7 separate regions of the Homo sapiens genome follow, and regions 2, 3, 4, 5, 6 and 7 are each linked to region 1. The links are contacts of gene promoters, found by promoter capture Hi-C in human tissues and cell types (Jung and others, 2019). All regions are on one chromosome and are shown on one strand. The core of a region is centred on a gene start or on the middle of the fragment in contact, and the rest is flanking DNA. Distances in the headings are between cores, read along the strand shown.

Region 1 (3,524 bases), core at 285-2,784:
CCGCAGGCCCCTGAACTTTGGCCCCCCCGAGTCTGAGCAAGCAGTAAGTGTGGAGTCCCCTGTCACCTCCCCTGAGCTAGCTGACCACGAGGAGGTACATTTACTGTCAACCTCCTTTCTGCTTGTCCCCTAAAACGTTCCTCCAAACCTTTTCTTGTGTATGAAAGTAAAGCCTTTTCCTGGTTGATTTTGAGACCTGGCAGGTTTCGGAGGCTGGGGCTTATCCCTATTTTTCTCTCTCCTTCTCTAGCCAGGATTTTTTTTTTTTTTTTTTTTTTTGGTTTTTGTTTTTGAGACGGAGTCTTTCTCTGTCGCCAGGCTGGAGTGCAGCGGCGCCATGTCGGCTCACTGCAAGCTCCACCTCCCAGGTTCACGCCATTCTCCTGTCTCAGCCTCCCTGGTAGCTGGGATTGCAGGCGCCCGCCACCACGCCGGGCTAATTTTTGTATTTTTAGTAGAGACGGGATTTCGCCATGTTGTCCAGGCTGGTCTGGAACTCCTGACCTCAGGTGATCCGCCCGCCTCGGCCTCCCAAAGTGCTGGGATTACAGGCGTGAGCCACCGCGCCCGGCCCAGGATTTTATTATTTGACAGGCTCCAGGACAGGGCACCACCTCCTCCTTGGCAGACCTTCCCAAACTGACCACCAAGCCCCTGACGGCTCCTGCCCTCTCCTCCCACTCTCCCCGATCCCCTGACTGCCTCTACTGTCCCCCAACACATCCCTCGAGCCCGACTCCCTTTACTGTCCCCCCAAACTTCCCTCAAGCCCCTGATCGCCTCTACTGCCCCCCTTAAAGTGCCCCTGAGCCCCTGACTGCTTCTGCTGTCCCCTCGAGCTGCCCCCAAACTCCCGACTGCAGCTACTGTCCCCCTAAACTGCCTTCGAGCCCCTGATCACCTGTCCCCCAAAACTGCCCCTTCAAACCCATGACCGCCTCTACGGCCCCCTCAAACTGTCCCCGAGTTCCTGACCGCTGCTATTGGCCCCCTAATCTGCCCTTGAGCCTGACTCCCTTCCACTGAACCCCCAAACTGCCGCCGAGCCCCTGACCGTGTCTGTTCCCGCAAACTGCCCCTGTGCCCCTTAAACCTCTACTGTCCACTTAAATTGCCTCAAGCCCCTGACCACCTCTGCTGTCCCCACAAGCTCTCCCCAAACTCCTGACCTGTACTGTCCCCAGAAACTACCCCTCGAGCCCCTGACCGCTTTTGCTGTCACCCCAGACTGCCCCCAGCCCTACCCCTCGGCCGCTGTGACCACGTCCCCGGGGCCCAGGCGCTCGTCGTGCGCCGCCCCGCGCGTCCCTCAGCTTTCTCCGGCTGCGAACTCGGGCGGAAGCCGGTTCCTGCCGCCCCACCTCGCCCTGGGCCCGGGCTCGGCTCCCGCCCGGCACTCACCATGTCCCGCCCGCTCCTGGGCTCTCCAGGGTTAGCGCCCCGCGGTCCAGCGACCGGCGCAGGTGAGCACGACAGGACACCTGAGCCGCTCGGGGTAGGCGGGGAAGCGCGCAAGGCAGAGGGGAACTCGGCTTACCGTCCTCGGGGTCTGATTGGACAGATCTCGGGAAGTGGAGACTCTGATTGGACAGTGCTGTCGACTCCGCACCCCTGATTGGAGAATTCTCCAGTCCGTCCCCCTAGCGCCCTTGATTGGGCAGGGCTCCGCTTCGGATTAACGTCTCTGATTGGACAGTTCCCTAGGCCCCGCCCCTGCCTGTCCTGATTGGATAATTCTCTCCTCAGTGACGGGCTCGTCGAGAACACGCGTGGCTGACCCTCTAGCCGGGCAGCCGCGGATCTGGGAGAACTCACTCCAGTCCAGGGAGGGCGCGGCGTCCTCCTCCCTGACTGCACGGCAACTCCAGACTCAGTTTCCCCTCGGAGCGGCCCCTCGTGCGGGGAGGAGAGGAAGGGCACGGAGTCCCATGGGGCGGAGTCCTGCGTGGGGGCGGGACCCGCGTGCGTGACGTCACCGTGCTGTCCCGCGTGGGCGCGGACGCCTGGGGTCCAGAGACCTGGAGATCTGGAGACCAGACGACGAGGCCCCAGGAGGCCGGACCCCACCAGGCGCTCCCTGTGTTCTTAAAACTCTCGGCCGGGCGCGGTGGTTCACGCCGGTAATCCCAGCACCGTGAGAGGCGGAGACCGGCGGATCATCAGAGGTCAGGAGTTCAAGTCCAGCCTGACCAAAATGGCGAAAACCACTTCTCTCCTAAAAATACAAAAATTAGCTGGGCACGGTGGCGGGCGCCTGTAATCCCAGCTACTCCGGAGGCTGAGGCAGGAGAATCGCTTGAACCCAGGAGGCGGAGATTGCAGTGAGCCAAGATCAGGACACTGCACTCCAGCCTGGGCAACAAGAGCGAAACTGAGTCTCAAAAAAAAAAAAAGCAGCCCTCCCACAAACAGAACCACGTAAGGTCATGAAGAGAGAGGTCTCACATTTATATGCTTAATAACGAAAAAGACTCTACAAAAACCACAGGCTTAAACAAAAAATACTTTTACAGGGACACTCAGACTGGTGTGACCCTTGTTACTGATCTTTGTAGACAAGGATAATTATTTCTGAAAAATGATGTAATCCTCATTTAAAATTTTTTTTTTCCTTTATAAACCTTTGTCCCAGTCTGGGCAACATGGCAAAACCCCATATATACAAAAAATACAAAAATTAGCTGGGAATAAAGGAGTGTGCGCCTATGGTCCCAACGACTTGATAGGCTGAAGCAGGAGGATCGCTCGAGCCCGTGGGGATTGAGGCTGCAGTGAGCTGTGATCTCACCATTGTACTCCAGCCTGGGCAACAGAGACCCCCGTCTCAAAAAAATGAAAACCAAAAACAACCTTTGTCTTCCTTTACCTCCCTGAATAAGCACATAGTTTGCTATGCCGCGCATATTCCCACTGCAATGAACTGTTACCACCGTTTTTAGACAGCCTGTTATTTAGGTCGACACAGTAAAAACATGAATTACGACAATTATGTTTGTATGTAAAATGGCAAGCGATATAGAGTTTATACTTCTACTCTGTCTCAAGCTGGAAAGTCTTTTCGGAGATGAGCAGTCGCGTTCCAGGCTTTAGGAATTGCGGCTCAACTGAATAAAAGTATTCAGAATTTTCACGTCGAGTTCAAATTTATTTAAACTTCTATGATTATTTTCTCAAATGAGTTAAAATAAGAATTCAATTACCATAGGAACAGTACAGCCTTTTACTTTAAGAAATTCTCTAGGGCCGGGCGCAGTGGCTCACGCCTATAATCCCAGCACTTTGGGAGGCTGAGGCAGGTGGATCACCTGAGGTCAAGAGTTCGAGACCAGCCTGGCCAACATGGCAAAACCCTTGTCTCTACTAAAAATATAAAAATTAGCCGGGCGTGGTGGCACATGCCTGTAATCCCAACTACTTGGGAGGCTGAGGCAGGAGAATCACTAGAGCCCGGGAGGCGGGGATTGCAGACCCAAGATCGCACCACTGCACTCCGCCTGGGTGACAGAGCGAGACTCCATCTCAAA
Region 2 (3,524 bases), core at 317-2,816, 940 kb after region 1:
AGCCTGGATGACAGGGAAAACTCCTGTTTCTTAAAAAAATAAGTAAATAAAATAAACATTAAAAACAGCAATAGCAAGAAATACATATAGGCCGAGCACAGTGATTCGCACCTCTAATCCCAGCACTTTGGGAGGCCAAGGTGGGCGGATCACCTGAAGTCAGGAGTTCGAGACCAGCCTGGCCAACATGTTGAAACCCCGCCTCTACTAAAAATACAAAAAAAAAATTAGCCAGGTGTGGTGGTGTGTGCCTGTAATCCCAGCTACTTGGGAGGCTGAGGGAGGAGAACCACTTGAACCTGGGAGTCGGAGGTTGCAGTGAGCCAAGATCGCACCACTGTACTCCAGCCTGGCAACAGAGCGAGACTCCACCTAAAAAAAAAAAAAAAAGAAAGAAAGAAAGAAAGAAAGAAAGAAAGAAAGAAAGAAAGAAAGAAAGAAAGAAAGAGAAAGAAACACATAGGGAGCTTTTCTTGTGCCCCAGCACTGTGTTTAGTGCTGTCTATGCATTATCTCATAATGTGGAAAAGCCATAGCGGCTCCATTTCACAGATGAGAAAAACTGAGGCCCGCAGGTGAGATCACTCATGCCCACTGGTCTGCCAGCTGGGGAGTGGCTGGGCTAGAGTTCAAACCCACTTCCAGTCCGACTGCACGGCCTGCACTCTCCACCCTACCATCTTCCACAGTCTCCTTGAATTCCTCCAGGGCGAGGCCACGCCAGCGCACAACTGCAGGGGGCGCCGTTCCCACAGCAGCCCTGCAAAGTGAGTGTGCCTGAGAAACTTCCGCCTCCCCTGCACCCAGCCCTGTTTAGGGCACGAGGCTGAATCAATGGTAAGTGACCATCTAATGGACCCACAACACGGTGACCTGGGGACAGTCATTTCTTTCTTTTTTTTTTTTTTTCTTTGAGACAGAGTCTCCCTCTGCCGCCCAGGCTGCAGTGCAGTGGCGCCATCTCGGCTCACTGCAACCTCCGCCTCCCAGGTTCAAGCGATTCTCCTGCCTCAGCCTCCCGAGTAGCTGGGATTACAGGCGCACGCCACCACGCCTGGCTAATTTTTGTATTTTCAGTAGAAACGGGGTTTCACCATGTTGGCCAGGCTGGTATCGAACTCCTGACTTCAGGTGATCCTCCCTCCTCGGCCTCCGAAAGTGCTGGGATTACAGGCGTGAGCCATGGCATCCGACCTGGGGACAGTCATTTCTTTGCCTGCACAGACTTTTTGGGGGATGCCACCCCTCACCCCTGCTCCCTTTGCAAGGAGAAGTGCCAAGAAGACCTTTCCCAACTCCCCCACCCCCCATTCTCTAAGGAATGAGGCCATCTTGCCATTTATTTATTTATTTGTCCGTTGTTTTGTTTTTAAATCTCTGATGCGCCATCAGAAAATTATTTCTGCCTCTGCCCCTGGCGTGGCTTTCGGAGATGCTTGTCTGTCAGCCAATGGGGAGGATCGGATTCTGGCAGGGGGCTGTGCTTTTCCGTCAGGCCGCCACCCCCCACCCCCTCCTCCCTGCACACAAAAGCAGCATAAATTAACCGTCTTCGGGAAGCCGAGCCTCTGCCAGCCCTGAGCTGGGAAGAAGCAGCTACCTCGGAGGCAGGGCGCGCAGGCGGGCGGCGATGAGAGGGGGCGCAGCCGCAGCCCCGCGCTGGGGAGCCCACCGCTAACCCTGCACCCCACCCACCCCTGCACAAAAGAGCTGGCGGGCGCTGGCCACGTCGCCCTGGGTGACCTTCCTCGGATGCAGAATCCGCCCCTGCGAGCATCCTCTTCCTCCTAGGCTCTGAAGGCCCGGGGAGCGTGAGCGATGCCCAGCTGCACCCGGGCAGGGCTCGCCTTTGTTTGCCAGTAAGGAGGAGAGGCTGTCTCAGCTGCAGAGGTGAGTGCGCGCATCTCCCCTTCTCCCAGGATAAACCGTCTCCCTGGAAGGTTTATCCGGCAGCCTTTGCCGCCTCTAAATCCCTTTCCAGCAGATGGGGCGGGTGGGAGCAGAGAGCCACGGTCTTGTGACTCCGTGAAGGCCCTCACATCCCTGTTCCCGGTACCAGGGAAAACCGTTCCCTGAGCTGCGCCCAGCAACACAGTTTACCTTCCGCGCGCACCGTTCCCCTCTAAGTGCACCATTTTCAGGACACGCTGAGAGCTCGGGCGGATGAAAACCTCAGCTTCTCTCTGGGACGCTGAAATAGACCCATCCTAGCCCTATGTATTTCCTATTTATAACGCTAGGAAGGCCACCAGCCGACGATTTCGGGAAAAAAAAAAAAAAAAAATCTAAGTGTGTCGATAAAGGCTGTCCTGTGGGGTGGGGAGGAAGGGGGTGGTTTATGGTTTAAGACACAGATGCCTCCTCCTTATTGGAACTCGTATGTGATTTGTTAATAATCAGACATCAGGGCTCAAATGAGCGCTTCACTCCCGTTCCTTGATGTCACTGTCTTCTTTTGGCCGTCCCCAAATGCGAAGCCAGGATCTGAGTGCAGGAGTGTCCGGGGCCCACTGAGGACCCACCCCACCCCATCCTTAGAAGACTGTGGAGTCAACGCCTGTGGCTGCAGCTGGCAGGGGGTGGGGGTCGGGGGCGGGGCTGGTGGGAGTGTTCCTGGGGGCTGAGGTCACACCCAGCTCAGTATAAGGAAGGGAGAGGCGAAGACCCCTTCCTCCGGAGAGCAAATGCGTTTCTACTGCCGAGGAGAACTTACCCTCGCGGGAAGGGCCTGGCTGGCTGCTGCCACCGCCCCCCCCCCGACCCCATAGCATCCAGGAGGGATTTTTTTTTTTTCCATGCTGCGTGTTACTGTCCCTCCTCCAAGCATGAATGACGACATTGAGGACAGAGAATCGAGTGAGAAACGCTCACCCTGTACGGGGGAGGGTCTAGTTTTAGCCGTCCCCTCCCCCCACTTCCTCATCTGGCTGAGGCTGCCTCTGGGTCCTTCCTTGCTAAGCCACAGTCCCCTGTCCCCGATGCAAACCCGATATCTATGCTGGGGGGCTGCAGGTAACCTACTCCACAGAGAGGCAGCCTGGATGCCATGAGAGTTGGGGGCCTTAGATGCTTCATGTATTTGGTTTTTTTGAGACAGGGTCTTGCTATCTTGCCCGGGCTGGTCTTAACCTCCTGTGCTCAGGCGATCCTCGCAAAGTGCTGGGATTACACGTGTGAGCCACTGCCCCCAGCCAGATGCTTTATCTTTTATTTTATTTTTTGAAGTAGGGTCTCTGTTGCTCAGGCTGGAAAGCAGTGGCATGATCATAGCTCACTGCAGTCTCGACCTCCTGGTCTCAAGCGATCCTCCAACTTCAGCCTCCTGAATAGCTGGGACTTCAGGCACCAGGCACCCATCACCATGTTTGGTTAATTTTTGTATTTTTTTTTTTTTAAGAGATGGGGACTTGCTATGTTGCCCAGGCTGGTCTTGACCTTCCAGGCTCAAGCGATCCTCCTATCTCAGCCTCCCAAAGTGCTGGGGATTACAGGTGTGAGCCACCGCACCAGCCAGATGCCTTATT
Region 3 (3,524 bases), core at 457-2,956, 820 kb after region 1:
GGAGGCCAGGCCATGGCCTGTGGCAATGTGTAGGGGACAGGGGGCTCCACCTGGGGATGGGCCCACCAGATCGCCTGGCAGAGCTTCAAACTGCTGCACCAGCTCCTGAAGGCTTGACTCATCAAGTTCCATCCGACTGAGGCTGCCGGGGCCTCCTGGCATAGGGTCCCACTGGCTGTCAGGGGTGAGGTCCTCCGAAGGCACAAGAATGTCCCTGGGCCCCTCCAAGTCCATGGCTGGAGGCCCCGAAGGGGATCGGGAAATTGTGGGGAAGTCCATGCCTGGACTCCAGGCTTAGGCCGGCATCTTCAGGCAGCTGAAAGAGAGAGAGTCAGCACTGAGGTTTCGCCCGGGTGCAGTGGCTCATGCCTGTAATCCCAGAATTTTGGGAGGCCCAGAAGGGCTGACTGAACCCAGGAGTTCAAGATCAGCCTGGGCAACAGAGCAAGACCCTCTCTCTACAAAAAATACAAAAAATTAAGGCCGGGCACAGTGGCTCACGCCTGTAATTCCCAGCACTTTGTGAGGCCGAGGCGGGCAGATCATGGGGTCAGGAGTTTGAGACCAGCCTGACTAACATGGTGAAATTCCGTCTCTACTAAAAATACAAAAAATTAGCCAGGTGTGGTGGCAGGCACCTGTAATCCCAGCTACGCAAGAGGCTGAGGCAGGAGAATCGCCTGAACCCGGGAGGCGGAGGTTGCAGTGAGCTGAGATCGCGCCATTGCACTCCAAGGTGGGCGACAGACGAGACTATCTCCAAAAAAAAAAAAAAAAACTAGCTAGGGGTGGTGGTGTAGGCTGTAGTCCCAGCTACTTGGGAGGCTGAGGTGGGAGGATCACCTGAACCAGGGGAGGCAGAGGCTGCAGTGAGCCTTGATTGTGCCACTGCACTCCAGCCTGGGTGACAGAGTGAGGCCCTGTCTTAAAAAAAACAAACAAACCCGAAAAACAAAAAACTTGAGGTTTCCCGGCTGCCTATCCGGTGCTAGGCTCTAGCTGGGTACTGTTCATACAGGGCACATAATTTAATACCCACTAACCCTTGCAAGGAAGTTAGGATTCCCATTTTACAGATGAAGAAACTGAGCCACAGAATGGGGAGGTGTGAGGCAGTGGCTTCCCGAGCCCCTGTGTCATCCCAGACCTCTCTCAACTAATGGAGTCTGTTCACTCCAGCCCTGGTTCTTCCAGGTCCTCCTCCCTCAAGACGCGGAACCCAGGCTGGAGACCCAGACCTCACACCCTGACTCTACCGACTGGTCAGAGGCAGTTCCCCAAGACCCCAGACCCAAGACCCCAGTCCCATGACCTCAACCCCCAATACCTCCATCCAGAACTTTAGACCCAGGACCCTGGACTTAATACCAGAGACCCAAGACGCCATAAGGCGGACCCCAGTCTCCAAACCTCCAATGCTACCCCAAGATCGACTCCAGACTCAGACCCCGACTTCAGGACCCAGCCCCAAGCCCAGACCCTAGTCCCCCCTCAGACCGAAGACCTCAAGCGCCGACTCAGACTGCGCTCTGCACCTCGAGGACACTCACTTCCCAAATCGAGGCCGCCTCAGCCCCGCGCAGCCTCCAGGACCCCGCTCCCCACGGACGGCCCCGACGTAGCCCGGGCCGCGTCCCCAGAAGGCGCAGCTCGGGGATTCCCGGTCCCGGCGCCCGCTCCTCTATCCGCGCAGAGCCCTGGCCCATTGAGCATGCGCGGCCTCGCGAGGCCTGCTGGGAAATGTAGTTCTCCCACCCAGCCTCGCCACGCGGGGGCGCTGGGACAACTGCAGATGTTGGAGGGGAGTTCGAATCCCAGGCTTCCCGGCCCGCAGACTGCCCCGGCTGGCCCCAGGACCTGTTTGTTCTCCTGCAAAATAGGGTTAATAATCACTGCCTGGCTCTGGGGGCTGTGTTCATTATTCCAAAGGATGGCAGATGGGGAGAAGTGGGGTTGGGAAATATTAAAGAAGTGTGAGAGGTGGTTTCCTTGGGACCTTGAGGCACCGGAAGCGTCGTGGAGACCCTGTTAAAGACGGACTTTCGGTTTGGCTCACAGTAGGGAGACACATAGGTGCACCATGGATTTGGGGTCGGCCTGGGAACTTTACCTCCCTGAGAACTCAGTTTCCTCATTATAAGCTGGGGAAAAAATAGTACCTACCTCTCAATTGTGAGGATTAAATTAGATCAAGCGGGTTAAGGATTTAGCAGTAGTAGAGCTGGAAAAGAATATATAAAATATATATTATTAATTTATATATTATATATAAAACATACTATATATTATATGTATTATATATGTTATATATAATTTTAAAAATATAATGTTATAAAAATTAACAGTGATTAGACTCCAGCCCTACTGGAGTATATTAGACTCATTGTTAATCTTCTTTTTTTAACTTTAAAGCTTTGAATAATTACTCATTGGATGGAATCAGGAACATATAAAGTGTGATATTTTTAGTAAATGTTATGTAATTGAAGAAGGGCAAGAAGTCAATGAAATATCCCTTGAACGCCTCCTCCTATAGTAACTGTGTATGTCTACAAAAGTCTGAAGAAATCACCATAGATTATGAAAGCTTGGGAGACCGCATTTCCCAGACACCTCCACGGGGCCTACACTTCCACGGGGCCTACAACTCCCAAACACCCTTGGGCCACTGACGTCTTCCGGAAACGTGCACTTGCAAGCTGCCCGCAATACGTCATGGCGACCAAACGCCTTTTCGGGGCTACCCGGACGTGGGCCGGCTGGGGGGCCTGGGAGCTCCTAAACCCCGCCACTTCCGGAAGACTCCTGGCCCGGGATTATGCCAAGAAACCAGGTGAGCTGGGTTAAGAGGAACCAAATGGGGACGGTGGGTGCACTGAGGAATTGACAGTGCGCAGGCGGTGGTTGGGGAGGTGGTGCTAGAACTGATGCGCAAGCGCAGAGAGGCGGATGCCAGGCTGTATGCGCAGGCGCAGTTTGAGGGACCCAGCGCCGCTTGGAGCTCGGGCGTCTGGCTCGGAGATACTGTAGCGATTGGACCCAGGGCGCAGGCGCCAGCTTGGGGCGGAGCGGCCTGGGAGGAGGATGTGGTTACGTGGAGACCACGCGTTTCACTGCGCAGGCGCGGGTTGGAAAGGATTTGAAGGGAGTCTGGGGAGGTCATGAACTTGGGTTCCAGTTCTGTTTCTCTGCCTGCCTCCAAATCGCTGGGTAACCTTGGCCAAGACGTTACCAAACATTCAAAGAAATTATGGAGCCCGTTTAATTGGCCACTTCAGCAAGAACAAAACAAGGTTATTAAGGTTTAGCTGGATACAGCCTTGCCTGATCTCCTTTGTTGAAAGGGGGAAATTGTCCAATGTTCGGCCTTAAAGACAGACACATAGCAGACAAAATATAACTTGAATGACTTGGTCATTCCAAGCATCGGTGTTACTTAATGCTATGTCCAAATCCCACTTAAAGTTACTTAATGCTGTGTCCAAATCCCACTTAAAGTGATTTCGAGGCCAGGCATGATGGCT
Region 4 (3,524 bases), core at 388-2,887, 760 kb after region 1:
TTAATGTACTGGTAAAGATGGGGGGGTGTCTCACTATGTTGCCCAGACTGGTCTCGAATTCCTGGCCTCAAGTGATCCTGCCACCTTGGCCTCCAAAGTACTGAGATTATAGGTGTGAGCCATCATGCCCAACCCTTCCTGGTTAATTTTATTTTATTGAGATAGGATCTTGCTCTGTCACCCAGGTTGGAGTGCAGTGGCACAGTCATAGCTCTCTGCAGCCTCAACCTCCCAGGGTCAATTGATCCTCCCACCTCAGCCTCCTGAGTTTCTGGGACTACAGGTGTGTACCACCACATCTGGCTAATTTTTAAAAAAGTTTTCTGGGCTGGGCGTGGTGGCTCACGCCTGTAATCTCAGCACTTTGAGAGGCCAAGGCAGGCGGATCACCTGAGGCCAGGAGTTCAAGACCAGCTTGGCCAATATGGTGAAACTCCGTCTCTACAAAAATACAAAAATTAGCTGGGCATGATGGCTGGTGCCTGTAATGCAATCCCAGCTACTCGGGAGGCTGAGGCAGGAGAATCACTTGAAACCGGGAGGCAAAGGTTGCAGTGGGCCGAGATCAAGCCATTGCACTCCAGCCTGGGCAACATAGCAAGACTCTGTCTCAAAAAAATAAAAAAAAAATAAAATAAAAACAAAAAACAAAACAAAACCAACAACAGCCAGCAGCAACAACAAAAAAACTTTTCTAGGCCAGGCTCGGTGGCTCACGCCTGTAATCCCAACACTTTGGGAGGCCGAGGCGGGCAGATCACTTGAGGTCAGGAGTTTGAGACCAGCCTGGCCAACATAGGAAAACCCCGTCTCTACTGAAAAAAAAAAAAAAAATTAGCTGGGCGTGGTGGTGCACGCCTGTAATCCCAGCTACTTGGGAGGCTGAGGCAGAAGAATCACTTGAACCCAGGAGGCGGAGGTTGCAGTGAGCCGAGATCGCGCCACTGCACTCCAGCCTGGGTGACAGAGGGAGACTCCATCTCAAAACAAACAACAAACAAAAGATATATAAAAATTTTTCTAGAGATGGGTTTCACCGTGTTACCCAGGCTGGTCTCAAATTCCCAGGCTCAAGTGATCCTCCCACCTCGGCCTCCCAAAGTGCTGGAATTACAGGTGTGAGCCACCACACCTGACCCTTTCTTGTTTTTTAGATGAGGACAGCAAGAAGCCCCTGTAATTTGCCCAAAGCCACACAGCGGGGAAGTGGCAGAAGCTTCTGTACGTAGGAACCCAGTCACTTCGTAGCAGAGAGGCAGACTGCGCACAGATCTGCGTGGGGAAGGGAGTGCGCCAAGCCACAGCCTGATGGGCCGGCGTGCCTGGCAGGAGGCTCAGCAAGCACAGAGACTGGGCAGCTCCAGATGCAAGAAGCAGGAGGGAGGGGGACTCCGGGAGTGCGGTCCATTCATGTCTGAATGTAGCCAACGAGGGTTTCCTAAGCACCTACCATGTGCGGACGCTTGATACCAGGGCCTCGGCGGTGAGGGCACAGGCAGGAGCAAGCTCACCTCTGGGCAAGCAGGGGTTAAGGCCAGTTGCTCCCACGTGAGGGCACCTTGCGACAGAGCCACACACCCAGTCCTCCTGCTGGCCCGCCCCTCACCCTGGTCCGTCTCCCTGTGTCTGTGGTCGTCAGTTCCACTGGCAGGGGACCTGCCTCCCTGTTGCCACCACAAGAGAGGAAAAGTTGGTCAAACAGGTGGGGAGGCCAGAGCTACAAGCCTCGGGTTCCCTCCCCACCACCCGTGCCAGGCAGGCACCCGGGCCCTGGCACCTGCTGCCTGCCCAGAGGCCACCCAGCCTCCTAGACAGGTAAGTCCCCCGCCCCACTGTGCTTTTCCACCCAGTGTGCATTGTCTGAGCTGGCCTTCCCCAGCTGAGGGTCCTTAGACTCCCCCCCAACCTCCCCCACCACGAGCTGTCTCCCCGGCTCCTCGGAAAGCAGGAAACTGACACTCCTGCGTGGGCATCTGACATAGTTTCGTAGGGATTATCTGACCGGCAGTTACTGCACCTGGCGGCCTGCCCAGGACGCTGAGCTGGAAACTTAAAAGGGTCATTGTTACCTAGGTGGCGCAGGGACCGGGGAGGCGGCAAAGGGGCACAGGTTGGTCTCTGATCCCCCTAACTGAGGAGGGGAGGGGATATCAGTCCAGACGGAGCCTGGGTTTACCTCCTGCAGCCCGAGGCTAGGAGGTGACAGGTGGGAAAGGCTGCGACCTCACTCATCTCTGAGCCTCCTGGAACTTCTTAAAAGGCTCCCAAGTTTTGAAACAACTGCGTCTCCCGCCCCCCAACCCCTCACCCTGTTCTCACCGCTGGAACCTCCAGGAGCTTTGCAGGGAGGGATTGGGGTGGCCTTTCTTTTGCTAATTTTTTTTTTGAGACGGAGTTTTGCTCTTGTTGCCCAGGCTGGAGTGCAGTGGTGCGATCTTGGCTCACTGCAACCTCTGCCTCCACCTCTGCCTCCCGAGTAGCTGGGATTACAAGCGCCCACCACTATGCCCAGCTAATTTTTGTATTTTTAGTAGAGATGGGGTTTCACCATGTTGGCCAGGCTGGTCTCGAACTCCTGACCTCAGGTGATCCAACCCCCTCGGCCTCCCAAAGTGCTGGGATTACAGGCGCAAGCCACTGCGCCCAGACTTCTTTTTCTAATCTTTACTCCTCCGAGCAAAATCTCTGTGGGATGGGGCAGAGGGGAAGGAGGAAGGAGCGCTCAGAGCCAGAGAGGGGAGGGGTCGGCAGCAAAAGTGTTTTTCTGGGTCATTTGCTCCCAAATGGGAAGACCAAGGGAGCTTCCTCGTGAGCCAAGTGTCCGATTGCATCTCAAGTCTCTCTCCAGAACCAAGAGGGTCCCCCGGGGCCGAGGAGGCATGGATGATCGCATAGTGGGGGACAGAGCGGCCCGGCATTTGGGGTCACCTTGTGGCTGTGTGGCTGCAGAGCTCCCAGGGAGCAGGCTTGCTTGAGATTCGGGAGTCCGTGGGGGTGGGCGACATGGATCCCACCTTGCCTGGGTTTTGAGAGCAAACCCGTGGACTCAGTTAGATCTGGCTTCCACACCTCCCTTCTCTCCGGGCCTCTGTTTCCTGCTCTGTAAAATGGGGATATTGAGGGCCGGGCGCGGTGGCTCACGCCTGTAATCCCAGCACTTTGGGAGGTCGAGGCGAGTGGATCACAAGGTCAGGAGTTCGAGACCAGCCTGGCCAACATGGTGGAACCCTGTCTCTACTAAAAATACAAAAAATGAGCCGAATATGGTGGCAAGCACTTGTAATCCCAGCTACTCCGGAGGCTGAGGCAGGAGAATTGCTTGAACCCAGGAGGTGGAGGTTGCAGTGAGCCGAGATTGTGCCACTGCACTCCAGCCTGGACAACAGAGTGAGACTCTGTCTCAAAAAAAAAAAAAAAAAAAGGGGTGGGGGGATATGGAGTCACCAAGGCACAGGGCTGTTGAGTGCCGGATGTAATAAAGCGGGTAACAGATTCTCGGTCATTCTGGGGTCAAGACGAGCTAT
Region 5 (3,524 bases), core at 380-2,879, 640 kb after region 1:
GGCGGGAGGATTCCTTGAGGTCAGGAGTTCGAGACCATCCTGGCCAACATGGTGAAACCCCCGTCTCTACTAAAAATACAAAAAAAATTAGCTGGGCATGGTGGCAGGTGCCTGTAATCCCAACTAATCAGGAGGCTGAGGCAGAAGAATCGCTTGAACCCGGGAGGCAGAGGTTGCAGTGAGCCGAGATCGTGCCACTGCACTCCAGCCTTGGCAAGAGAGAGAGACTCCGTCTCAAAAAATAAAATAAAATAAAATATCTGATATGTCAGATGGTAGCTTTAAATGCTGAAGAGAAGCTGGGCACAGTGGCTCACATCTGTAATCCTAGCACTTTGGGAGGCCAAGGCTGAAGGATGGCCTGAACCTCCTGGTCTTGAGTTTGAGACCAGCCTGGGCAACACAGTGAGATCCCAACTGTACAAAAAATTAATCATGTTTCTAAATTAAATTTTAAAAAACTGAATGCGGCCGGGTGCGGTGGTTCACGCCTGTAATCCCAGCACTTTGGGAGGCCAAGGCAGGTGGATCACCTGAGGTCAGGGGTTCGAGACAAGCCTGACCAACATGGTGAAACCCTGTCTCTACTAAAAAATACAAAAATTAGCCAGGCATGGTGGTGTGCGCCTATAATCCCAGCTACTAGGGGGGCTGAGGCAGGAGAATCGCTTGAACCCAGGAGGTGGAGGTTGCAGTGAGCCGAGATCACGCCATTGCACTCCAGCCTGGGCGACAGAGCTAGACTCCGTCTCCAAAATCAAACAAACAAACCAAAGGCTGGGCGTGGTGGCTCATGCCTGTAATCCCAGCTTTTTTGGAGGCTAAGGTGGGTGGATTCCTGAGGTCAGGAGTTCAAGACCATCCTGGCCAACATGGTGAAACCTCATCTCTATTAAAAATACAAAAAAATTAGCCGGGCATGGTGGTATATGCCTGTAATCCCAGCTACTGGGGAGGCCGAGGCATGAGAATTGCTTGAACCTGGTGGGCAGAGGTTGCAGTGAGCTGAGATCGTGCCACTGAACTCCAAACTGGGTGACAGAGCGAGACTCCAGCTCAAAATAAATAAATAAATAAAAATAATAAAATAAAATAAAACAATGACCTCGCCTAGCAGAGGGTGAGTGCTCCAGCACCCTCAGCTGTCCCTGTCCTTTTTTTTTTTTTTTTTTTTTTTTTTGCGACGGAGTCTCGCTTTGTTGCCCAGGCTGGAGTGTAATGGCGCCATCTCAGCTCACTGCCACCTCCGCCTCCCGGGTTCAAGAGATCTCAGCCTCCCGAGTAGCTGGGATTACAGGCGCCCGCCACCACGTCCGGCTGATTTTTGTATTTTTGGTAGAGACGGGGTTTCACCATGTTGGCCAGGCTAGTCTTGAACTCCTGACCTCAGGTCATCTGCCCGCTTCGGCCTCCCAAAGTGCTGGAATTACAGACGTGAGCCACCGCTCCAGGCCTGTCCCTGTCCTTATTTGTGGTCCCTGTTCTTCCAGGGTCCTGAGCTCAGGCCCCCCCGGACTGCGGGTATCCCCGGGGAGGGCACAGCTGGCCCTGGCAGGGCCCGGACACCTGGGGCCCGACCCACCCCTGCGCACCCCGCGGTGTCGCCTTCCCGGGAGGCTCGGGTTCCCAGATCCCCTTACCCGGGCGTCTCGGCTGTCGCGCCCTGGGCCGGGGGAGGGGAGGCTGCAGGAAGCGGCGGATCCGGCGGCGGCGGCGAGGGCCCGGGTGGGTGGCCGAACTTCTCCCGCCATGGAGGGAGCAGCGGCCCGGGAGGCCCGGGGGACCGAGACCCCGCGCGCGTCTGCGCCCCCGCCCGCGCCCTCGGAGCCCCCGGCCGCGCCCCGCGCCCGCCCGCGCCTCGTCTTCCGCACGCAGCTGGCGCACGGGAGCCCCACGGGCAAGATCGAGGGCTTCACCAACGTCCGCGAGCTGTACGCCAAGATCGCCGAAGCCTTCGGGATCGCGCCCACCGAGGTAAGGAGCCCGGACACCGGCGCCCAAGACCACCCGCCTGATGGGGTGAGGGGTAGGGAGCTTGGACCCTGGACGGGAGACCCCAGATCCCCGGATCCCAGACGTCGGGGTGGCCGCCTAATCGCCGGATCTCAGAGACCCAGCCCTCAGATCCCGGGGTGCCACACTCCCAGGGGCCCCCTTTGCACGCTCTGCGCAAAAGATGGGCAGGTCTTAGGACTAGCGGACCCCTAGATATTCCAGAAAATCCTCTGCGCAGACCTAGCTTGGAGCGGACCCCAGCCCTCGGGGAAGCGCCTCTGTGCTTCCTGGGCGTAGCTGGGGTCTGGGGTTCCAGATGGCCCCCTTAGGGATGGGAAGTTTGAGGCCGCCGTGGGGTTGGGGGGTTCCTGGGCGTTTTTCCAATCCGGGTTCGTTTGGTTTGCAGCCCCCAGGGGGCGCCAGCAGATTAAACCTGGAGGTCTGGGGGCTGGAGGTCCCGGGGTATGGAGAGGGGTCTCCACCTGCTGGAAGTCTCCTTCTCCCTCCTCTCTCTGTTCTGGGGGTCCCACGCCCTGCCCTTTCCCATGGGCTGGGATCCTGGTCGCTGGGGGCAGGGGCCTGCGCAGACAGGGTGGCTGCGTGGGGGGATGCATGCCCTGGCTAACTCTAGGCTCCTTCTCCCCCGGGAAGATTTTATTCTGCACCCTCAACAGCCACAAAGTGGACATGCAGAAGCTCCTGGGGGGTCAGATAGGCCTGGAGGACTTCATCTTTGCCCACGTGCGAGGCGAGACCAAGGAGGTGGAGGTCACTAAGACAGAGGATGCTCTGGGGCTGACCATCACGGACAACGGGGCTGGCTACGCCTTCATCAAGGTGCCCGGGAGGGGGTGGGCGGGTGGCTTCCTGGGGTCCAGCAACTGCCCCCCCCACTCTGGGTCGACGTGGGTTCTGCGGATTGGAGGCGGGTGGCTGGGGTTGCCCTGCCAGCGACGCTGGATCCCTGCAGAGAATCAAGGAAGGCAGTATCATCAACCGGATCGAGGCAGTGTGCGTGGGTGACAGCATCGAAGCCATCAACGACCACTCCATTGTGGGCTGCCGCCACTACGAGGTGGCCAAGATGCTCCGGGAGCTGCCCAAGTCCCAGCCCTTCACCCTGCGCCTGGTGCAGCCCAAGAGGGCCTTCGGTGAGGCGGGTGGGCTGGCGGGAGCTCTTCCCGAAGTGCGTTCTACGGATGCCTGGGGTGGAGGAGGGTCGGGGATGGGACGGGCTGGAAGGTTCTAGGTGCACCCGCTGCGTGCCAAGGAGCTCCTGGCAGGGTATCAGAAACTCGTAGGTAGTTTCTATTAATAGATTGTTATGGAGTCAGCCTGTGGGGGAGGGGTGGGGGAGAGACTGGGTAAAGTGGAGTTGGAGGAGGACGCGTCCAGAACCACTTTGGAGCCAGGCTGGGAGACTTGTTTTTGTTTGTTTGTTTGTTTGTTTGTTTTTGAGACGGAGTCTCACTCTGTTGCCTGGGCTGGAGTGCAATGGCGCGATCTCAGCTCACTGCAATCTCCACCTC
Region 6 (3,524 bases), core at 332-2,831, 640 kb before region 1:
GCCGTAACCATCGTGACCTGAGCATCTGTTTTATGGTGGCACCACACTGCAGCCGAGGTGGGCAGCATCTCATTTAATCCCATGTGGGGTGGATCTGAGAGAGGGGACGTCATTTGCCGGAAGTCACCGGTGAAGACCAGACAGGCAGGGCAGGGAAGGCTGAGTTGAACCCTCCTAAGCCCCCATCCCACCGCCCGGCTGCCCCCTTCCTGCCACCCCACATCATCGAGATGGGGACAGGAGCTGGGTCTACAGGGGAAGCCCGTGGGTTCTTCCCACTCAGATCCTGTCTCCGACGATGGCTGCTGCTTCGGCTCAGAGAACAGCCAGGGTAAGGCCATGCCGCGGCAGCCCACCCCACACCAGCCTCCTGATAAAGCCAGCACCACCCTCCCTGAACCTGTTTCCAGCCTGCGTCCTCCACCTGACCACTCACACCTCACACCTTCTGCATCCTCTCCAGGCCACTTCCAGGGAGCCCTCCTGGGTTGCTCTGGTTCTCACAGCTCTGTTGTCCCTGAAGGCTCCCCCCAGCCAAGCCCCAGATCGTCCCTCTGCAAATACCACTGCACAGCAGACGCCCGCTCCCCACCCCCGCCGGAGCAAGGGTGTCTGCAGCCTCGCTGCGTCCATGGTTTAGCCAGGGACCGCTTGCTAAAATGCAGCTTCTGGGGCACATCGCCTCAGAAGTTCTGACTCCTCAGAACTGGGGGGGCCGGGACACCGGCACCGTTAGCGCCCCAAGCACACGTTGAGAAACCCAGTTACATGGTGGTCTCCAGCGTAAGGACCCGGGGCTTTTCTTGTGCCCGGACCAAGGCACGAGGTGCTGCTCCCCTAAACTTGTTGAATGGGACTCAGGGCCTCCCCTGGCCAGGCCCCAGAGGCCCGGGAGGTGGCGGCACCCACTCAGGGTGCCCAGGCCCACCATTTCTGGTGCTATTCAGACGCCCCCAGAGCAGGGGGACTCAGCCCTATGCCCCCAGGTCCCTCCCCGCCAGGCCGGGCCGTCAGCTCCAGCGATGGAGCAGGCTCCGGTGTGGACCCCAGATACCCTTTGCGTCTTCCAGCTCCGCACCCCCAGGCTGGACCAGACCCGGCTCGGGGGAGACAGGGCAGGAAGGCGCGGGCTGCAGGCTCTATTCGGACGTTCCCCACACCCCAGACCCAACCAGTGCCCCCTTCATCTCCTCCTGGAGAGGAGCGCATCCTCCCAGCGTCCCCAGTGCCCCGGGGAGATGCCCACCCGATTCCCCGCTCCTTGGCGCCCCAGAGGAGGGGCGGGGGGCCCCAGGGTGGGGAGTTCGCCCCCAAAGTTTCCAGGGGGAGCGTCGGGGGCCTGGCAAGGAGCGATGAGCCCGGGAGGGGTGCGCGGGGCAATTTCCCCCGGCTGAGGATGGGGTCGCGGGTTGGGGGCTTTGGGCGGCAGGGTCGCAGGGTGCAGGTGAGGGGTCCCCAGGTCTGCGGGCGCGCCCCACGCCGGGCCCCGGCACGGCCACTCACCTGGGCGGCTCCGCCGCGGACACGGCGCGGGCTGCGGCGCGGGGGCCGCCCGGAGCCGACACGAGCAGCCGCCGCCGCCGCCGCCGCCGCCGCCGCCGCCTCCCGGGCTCCGCCGTGCGCGCCGCCGCCGCGCGCAACCGCCCGCCGGTCTCCTCGGCGCGCCTGGCGGGGGCGCGCGGGGGCTGCGCTGGGCCGCGTGCGCGGCGGCTGGGGCCGCAGGTGTGAGAGGCCACGTGGGCGCAGGTGCGGGGACACTGGGAGCGCGGGTGCAGAACCCCTCCGTGCGCATCCCGGGCGCTTCGTGTCCGAGGACCTCCTGTCCCCACGGCCTGGGTGAGCCTGCGGAGACGGCCGTGCCGTGCAATAAACGCAGGGGCACCCCAAGTGCAGCAGGTTGTTCCGTGTGGAACCTTCTGGAAGCTACCATCGCCTCCTCTGCCCCCCGTCCCCCACCCCTAGTCCAGGCCGCCACCATCTGCACCTGGACATCTGCCACAGCCCAGCCCAGGCCCATTCCTTATGTGGCCCTCAGAGGAAGCCCCTCAGAGGAAGCTTAGCCACTGGGCTCCAGAACCTGCCGTGATTCCCTATTGCCGTGAGGGTCCCGTCTGCACCCCACCTACCCTGGAATTTCTCTTTCTTTCGTTCTTTCTTTCTTTCTTTCTTTCTTTTTTTTTTTGAGATGGAGTCTTGCTCTGTTGCCCAGGCTGGAGTACAGCGGTGCCATCTTGGCTCACTGCAACCTCCGCCTCCTGGGTTCAAGCGATTCTCCTGCCTCAGCCTCCCAAGTAGCTGGGATTACAGGCACCCGCCACCACGCCCGGCTAATTTTTGTATTTTTATTAGAGACGGATTTTCAGCATGTTGGCCAGGCTGGTCTCAAACCCCTGACCTCGGGTGATCCACCCACCTCGGCCTCCCAAAGTGCTGGGATGACAGGTGTGAGCCACCGCCCGGCTGCCTGCACTGTTTGGTCTGCCGCACCACCTCCTTCCCCCTGGCCTGTCCTCACTCACTCTTTCCCGGGCTCCACCCCCTCAGCCTTCCTCAAACAGGCCAAGTCCCTCCAGTCCCAGGCCTTTGATCTTCGCTGTGCCCAGCTTGGACAGCCTTTCTCTCTGTCCCTCCATCGAGCAGCTTGGAGCCTCTCAGTTTGTCTAATGGGCTTGTTCCCCAATGTGCCTTCCGCCTAGCACACAGCAGCGCACACACCAAGTGCACTGCGAGTGCTCATGGAAAGTTTTTTACCTTTTTTTTTGTCTTTTTTTTTTTTTTTTTTTTTTGAAATGGAGTTTTGCTCTCGTCACCCATTCTGGAGTGCAGTGGTGCAATCTTGGCTCACTGCAACTTCCACCTCCCGGGTTCAGGCGATTCTCCTGTCTCAGTCTCCCAAGTAGCTGGGATTACAGGCGCCCATGACCATGCCTGGCTAATTTTTGTATTTTTAGGGGAGATAGAGTTTCACCATGTTGGCCAGGCTGGTCTCGAACTCCTGACCTCAGGTGATCCACCCGCCTCGGCCTCCCAAAGTGCTGGGATGACAGACGTGAGCTACTATGCCCGGCCCCTCACTGCATCTTCTAAAAGCCACATTTAGCCTCCCTGTCTCACAGATGAGCAAACCAAGGCTGGGAGATGCCATTTGTCCCAAGTGAGGGGTGAGAAGGAGGCCTCGGGAACCTGTGTGTGTAACCTTGCCCTGTCTGCCCCCTTCACCCACTCTGCAGTCCTCCCCACCAGCTGTGTATTCCCAGTGGCTTTGGCGGTGGCCTGGCACTCACGCAGCCACCTGTGACTCAAGCAGGCTCTGTTCCCAGACTGTCGCGTTGGCTGGAGGCCCAGAAACCGCATCCCTGGGAGGCTGCAGGCCAGGCCCCCCACAGGATGCTGTGGGGGGCGGGTATGGTTCAATTCCTGGCCCCAGAGAGGTCCAGAAGGACTTCATGACACCCCATGCTCTCCCCACCAAATGGCCCTGGGCTGCTGTGCTGTGTGACCCCAGTAGGGGAGGTCTCCTTCTC
Region 7 (3,524 bases), core at 263-2,762, 620 kb before region 1:
CTGGCTCCTGACTCACAGATCCTGTGAGATAATAAAATGGTGCTGTTTCAGCTGCTAAATGGGTGATTTGCTATGAAGGGCAGAAAACAAAGGGAAGCAGTGTGACCAGCAAGAGCGGCCGCTCACTCATGTCCTTCCATGTCCGGAGTCAGCATGGTGTAGACTGAGAAAACATTTTATTCATATTCCTTTTTCTTTTTGTTTTGAGACGGAGTCTTGCCCTATCGCCAGGCTGGAGTGCGGTGGCACAATCTCGCCTCTGGGGTTCAAGCAATTCTCCTGCCTCAGCCCCCCGAGTAGCTGGGACTACAAGCGTGCGCCACCATGCCCAGCTAACTTTTTGTATTTTAGTAGAGACAGGGTTTCACCACGTAGGCCAGGATGGTCTTGATCTCCTGACCTCCTGATCTGCCTGCCTCGGCCTCCCAAAGTGTCAAGATTAAAGGCATGAGCCACTGTGCCTGGCCTCCTTTTTCTCTTTTGAGACTGGGCCTTGCTCTGTGGCCCAGGCTGGAGTGCAGTGGTGCGGTCATAGCTCACTGCAGCCTCAAACCCTAGGGTGAAGCCACCCTCCTGCTTCAGACTCCCAAATTGCTGGGATTACACACGTGAGCCGCCCCGTCCGGCTGGGGCACTGTGATTTTTAATAACTCTCATGCCACCCAGTTGTCTACAATCCAGGGACAAAGAGGTTTGGGTCCCCGTCTTACAAAAAAAAGAAACCAAAGATCCAAGAGGCTATTGAATAAGTGACGTGTTGTCTGACTGCTTACTTCCTGCTGAGAGCTGCCTCAATTACATTACATGCCTGTAACCATTCATTCTCACCACCCCCTGTGAAGTGGGTGGAGTTACCAGCCCCATTTGACAAATGAGGAAACGGAGGCTAGGAGAAGGCAGCTCACTTGCCCAGTCAAAAATGCTAGGCTGGGCATGGTGGCTCATGCCTGAAATCCCAGCAATTTAGGGGGCTGAGGCAGGCAGATCGCTTGAGGCCAGGAGTTTGAGACCATCCTGGCCAACATGGCCTCTCTACTAAAAATACAAATATTAGCCGGGCGTGGTGGTACACATTAATTCCAGCTACTCGGGAGGCTGAGGCACAAGAATCACTTGAACCTGGGAGGCGGAGGTTGCAGTGAGCTGAGATCGCACCACTGCACTCCAGCCCGGGTGACAGAGCGAGACTGCGTCTCAAAAAAAATAATGAAAATAAATAAAAGAGGTGCTTCCGCATGCGTCCTCATCATCTCTGTTGCTGGGTTTATTTGAAATTTTTAAAGAGGGGGTACCGACAGCGGGAGCCTCCTCACCTTCGCGGCCTCCCTGGAACTTTACCCGGATCGTCTTGTCGATGTACTTGGACAAGTCCAAGATGCTCTCCTTTTTCTTCTTCTCCTTATCCTGCGGGGAAAGCAGAGCGCATGAGACCTGGAGCGCGGCCCGAGCTCCACGCCCCCCGGCTCCAGATTCCGCCGCGCGCTCACCGCCATCTTGTCGCGCCGTGTGGCTCTTCGCAGGCACCGCCCCGCGCCCTTTGACCTCCCCCACGCGCATGCGCGGCGCATGCGTGGCCCGGGGTCTCGGGGCGTTGCTGGGAAACATCTGCCGTTGGTTGCGGCGGGCACCGGCCGACATGGCGGCAGCGGTGGCGGCTGCGCTGGCGCGGCTTTTGGCGGCCTTTCTGCTCCTCGCGGCCCAGGTGAGCGCGGCACCGGTCCCGACGGCACCGCGGGCTGCGGCCCTTCGGCCTCTCTGTCCCCGGGCTACGCGCAGGAACGACCCCGCTCGGCCCGTCTTGGGGGTCCAGCCTCGGGGATCCGCCGTCCCCGCGTTGTCGGCCGGCGGTGCCGGGGCTCGGCCGTGACCTTGCGGGTCTGTCCCCGGCTCCTCTCCTTTCCCCGCCTCGGAGGCCCTCCGCCGCTGCAGCGCCACTCACTTCCCACCGGGTCTGAAATTTGTGCCCCCTCCATCCTCCGGTTCTGCTTCTCCGTTTCGGGGTCTCCAGTTGCCGCCGGGGACGCCTCTCTCCGGCTCTGTGGCCTTGAGCAGGCGGCTGCCCACCCCTCTCCGAGCCTCAGTTTCCCCTTAGGCGGAACGGGCACGGTGCTAAGCTAACCTCACCCTAGGGGGTGCGGTGGGGGAACCCAGAGGCGTCCCGCGCGTCCCCCAGTAACTGGCAGCATCCTGGAGCGGCCAGGAGTCCAGCCCTGCACTGGGGTCGGATCCCCGCTCCATCTTTTACTCCGTGACCTTGGACGATGGAATTCGTGTGCAGAAGGAGGACCGACTATGGTGTGGATTCTGGAGGTTCTGTCCAGGGTGACCAGCGCCCAGGGCCAACAGGCCTTCATTATGTTCATTGTGTGTCATTTGATGTAAAGAGTGTCAGGTTCTAGTGGGGACAGTCTACGAGATCGCACTGTCATAACTGCATCTTTTATTTTCTTAATTCCAAATCTTCCCTCTCTCCTGAGTTCGGTGGCTCAGGCAATGGAACCTGGAGCAGCCCCACAAATGCAGCCCTTAACCTTCACTACCCCCTCAGAGTTCTCACTCTTAAGGCGTCGCCGCCACCTGGCTCCTCAGTCTCCACTCCTCCAGCCCCACCGCTATCCCTCTGCTGTGGCTGCCTTTGTCCACCACATCCCCAGTCCATCCTCGACACAGCAGGGGTGACCCTTTCAAAGTATGTCAGACCGTGTCGCATCCAGATGAGTGCGCCGTCCAGTTGTGACCTGGCTGCTGGGGAAGCCTGCAGCTCATTGCAGTCGCTTCACTCTCTAGTCTTTTCTCTTACCCTGAGATGCCCCTGGTCTCTGCAAGGCTGTCGGGCCCCCTCGGAAGCTTTCTGAGAACCCCAGTCCTACCCCCAGCTGCTCTGTCAGCCCCCTTTGGACTCCCCCCATTCTGCAGCCAGGCACCTAGAGCTCCCCAGACATTTGGAAGGAGGGGGAAAGCCAGAGGTGGAAGAAAGATCACAGAACTCTGTGGAGAGAGGGACTCAGTTTGCCTGGGAAGGCTTTTCCGAAGCAGATCTATTTTTTTTTTTTGAGACGGAGTCTCGCTCTGTCGCCCAGGCTGGAGTGCAGTGGCATGATCTAGGCTCACTGCAACCTCTGCCTCCCGGTTCAAGCAATTCTCCCACCTCAGCCTCCCGAATAGCTGGGATTACAGGTGCATGCCACCACTCCTGGCTAAATTTTTTTTTTTTTTTTTTTAGTAGAGACGAGGTTTCACCATGTTGGTCAGGCTGGTCTCGAACTTCAGACCTCAGGTGATCCACCTGCTTCGGCCACCCAAAGTGCTGGGATGACAGGCGTGAGCCACCGTGCCCGGCCCCGAGGCAGGTGTTCTGAATGATGAGTAGGAGTTTGCCGGGTCGGCAGGAGGGGAAGGGTGTTGGAAGCACCAGAAGCAGCATAAGCGGGGGCTGGGAGGTGTGAGAGCTGGCAGGTTATTTGGGGTTGGCAAGGGGTGGGCTGTGGCTGGAGTGTAGGGTGGAATAATGCTGGAAGGAAGGG

What was found. Contacts are between HindIII fragments. The study calls those that stand out against the background at their distance.
Region 2: the fragment with the promoter of ATCAY here is called in contact with the fragment with the promoter of ZNF77 in region 1 in 3 of the 25 tissues and cell types used here (bladder, lymphoblastoid cells and mesenchymal stem cells).
Region 3: a contact is called between the fragment with the promoter of APBA3 here and the fragment with the promoter of ZNF77 in region 1, in 1 of the 25 tissues and cell types used here (dorsolateral prefrontal cortex).
Region 4: a contact is called between the fragment with the promoter of TJP3 here and the fragment with the promoter of ZNF77 in region 1, in 2 of the 25 tissues and cell types used here (lymphoblastoid cells and mesenchymal stem cells).
Region 5: a contact is called between the fragment with the promoter of GIPC3 here and the fragment with the promoter of ZNF77 in region 1, in 1 of the 25 tissues and cell types used here (dorsolateral prefrontal cortex).
Region 6: a contact is called between the fragment with the promoter of LINGO3 here and the fragment with the promoter of ZNF77 in region 1, in 3 of the 25 tissues and cell types used here (heart left ventricle, liver and lymphoblastoid cells).
Region 7: the fragment with the promoter of LSM7 here is called in contact with the fragment with the promoter of ZNF77 in region 1 in 3 of the 25 tissues and cell types used here (dorsolateral prefrontal cortex, lymphoblastoid cells and mesenchymal stem cells).

Annotation. Positions count from the first base shown.
Region 1 is chr19:2,943,437-2,946,960 of GRCh38, forward strand. ZNF77 (zinc finger protein 77) reads right to left here and starts at 1,535. Exons shown (of 4, transcript NM_021217.3): 1 at 1,402-1,535. The coding sequence starts at 1,404. RefSeq lists silencers at 1,231-1,310, 1,451-1,700 and an enhancer at 1,771-1,930. The HindIII fragment of the contact is 6,632 bases long and covers 1-3,524 here.
Region 2 is chr19:3,879,119-3,882,642 of GRCh38, forward strand. It overlaps ATCAY (ATCAY kinesin light chain interacting caytaxin), which reads left to right and starts at 1,567. Exons shown (of 13, transcript NM_033064.5): 1 at 1,567-1,890. RefSeq lists an enhancer at 1,242-1,772. The HindIII fragment of the contact is 15,458 bases long and covers 1-3,524 here.
Region 3 is chr19:3,759,986-3,763,509 of GRCh38, forward strand. It overlaps APBA3 (amyloid beta precursor protein binding family A member 3), which reads right to left and starts at 1,707. Exons shown (of 11, transcript NM_004886.4): 1 at 1,551-1,707; 2 at 1-316. The coding sequence starts at 279. It overlaps MRPL54 (mitochondrial ribosomal protein L54), which reads left to right and starts at 2,697. Exons shown (of 3, transcript NM_172251.3): 1 at 2,697-2,833. The coding sequence starts at 2,716. LOC105372248 (a long non-coding RNA gene) reads right to left here and starts at 2,655. Exons shown (of 3, transcript XR_936268.1): 1 at 2,573-2,655; 2 at 2,164-2,221; 3 at 1,769-1,869. RefSeq lists a silencer at 1,592-1,909 and an enhancer at 2,571-3,060. The HindIII fragment of the contact is 13,428 bases long and covers 1-3,524 here.
Region 4 is chr19:3,706,747-3,710,270 of GRCh38, forward strand. TJP3 (tight junction protein 3) reads left to right here and starts at 1,638. Exons shown (of 21, transcript NM_001267560.2): 1 at 1,638-1,815. RefSeq lists enhancers at 1,083-1,746, 1,747-2,408, 3,244-3,524. The HindIII fragment of the contact is 5,666 bases long and covers 1-2,625 here.
Region 5 is chr19:3,583,849-3,587,372 of GRCh38, forward strand. GIPC3 (GIPC PDZ domain containing family member 3) reads left to right here and starts at 1,630. Exons shown (of 6, transcript NM_133261.3): 1 at 1,630-1,974; 2 at 2,647-2,832; 3 at 2,966-3,146. The coding sequence starts at 1,750. The HindIII fragment of the contact is 10,668 bases long and covers 1-3,524 here.
Region 6 is chr19:2,306,573-2,310,096 of GRCh38, forward strand. It overlaps LINGO3 (leucine rich repeat and Ig domain containing 3), which reads right to left and starts at 1,582. Exons shown (of 2, transcript NM_001101391.3): 1 at 1,504-1,582. The HindIII fragment of the contact is 18,961 bases long and covers 1-3,524 here.
Region 7 is chr19:2,327,074-2,330,597 of GRCh38, forward strand. LSM7 (LSM7 homolog, U6 small nuclear RNA and mRNA degradation associated) reads right to left here and starts at 1,513. Exons shown (of 4, transcript NM_016199.3): 1 at 1,488-1,513; 2 at 1,314-1,404. The coding sequence starts at 1,493. It overlaps SPPL2B (signal peptide peptidase like 2B), which reads left to right and starts at 1,611. Exons shown (of 15, transcript NM_152988.3): 1 at 1,611-1,702. The coding sequence starts at 1,637. RefSeq lists silencers at 518-617, 1,638-1,897 and enhancers at 888-947, 1,228-1,882, 1,318-1,367, 1,378-1,427. The HindIII fragment of the contact is 22,122 bases long and covers 1-3,524 here.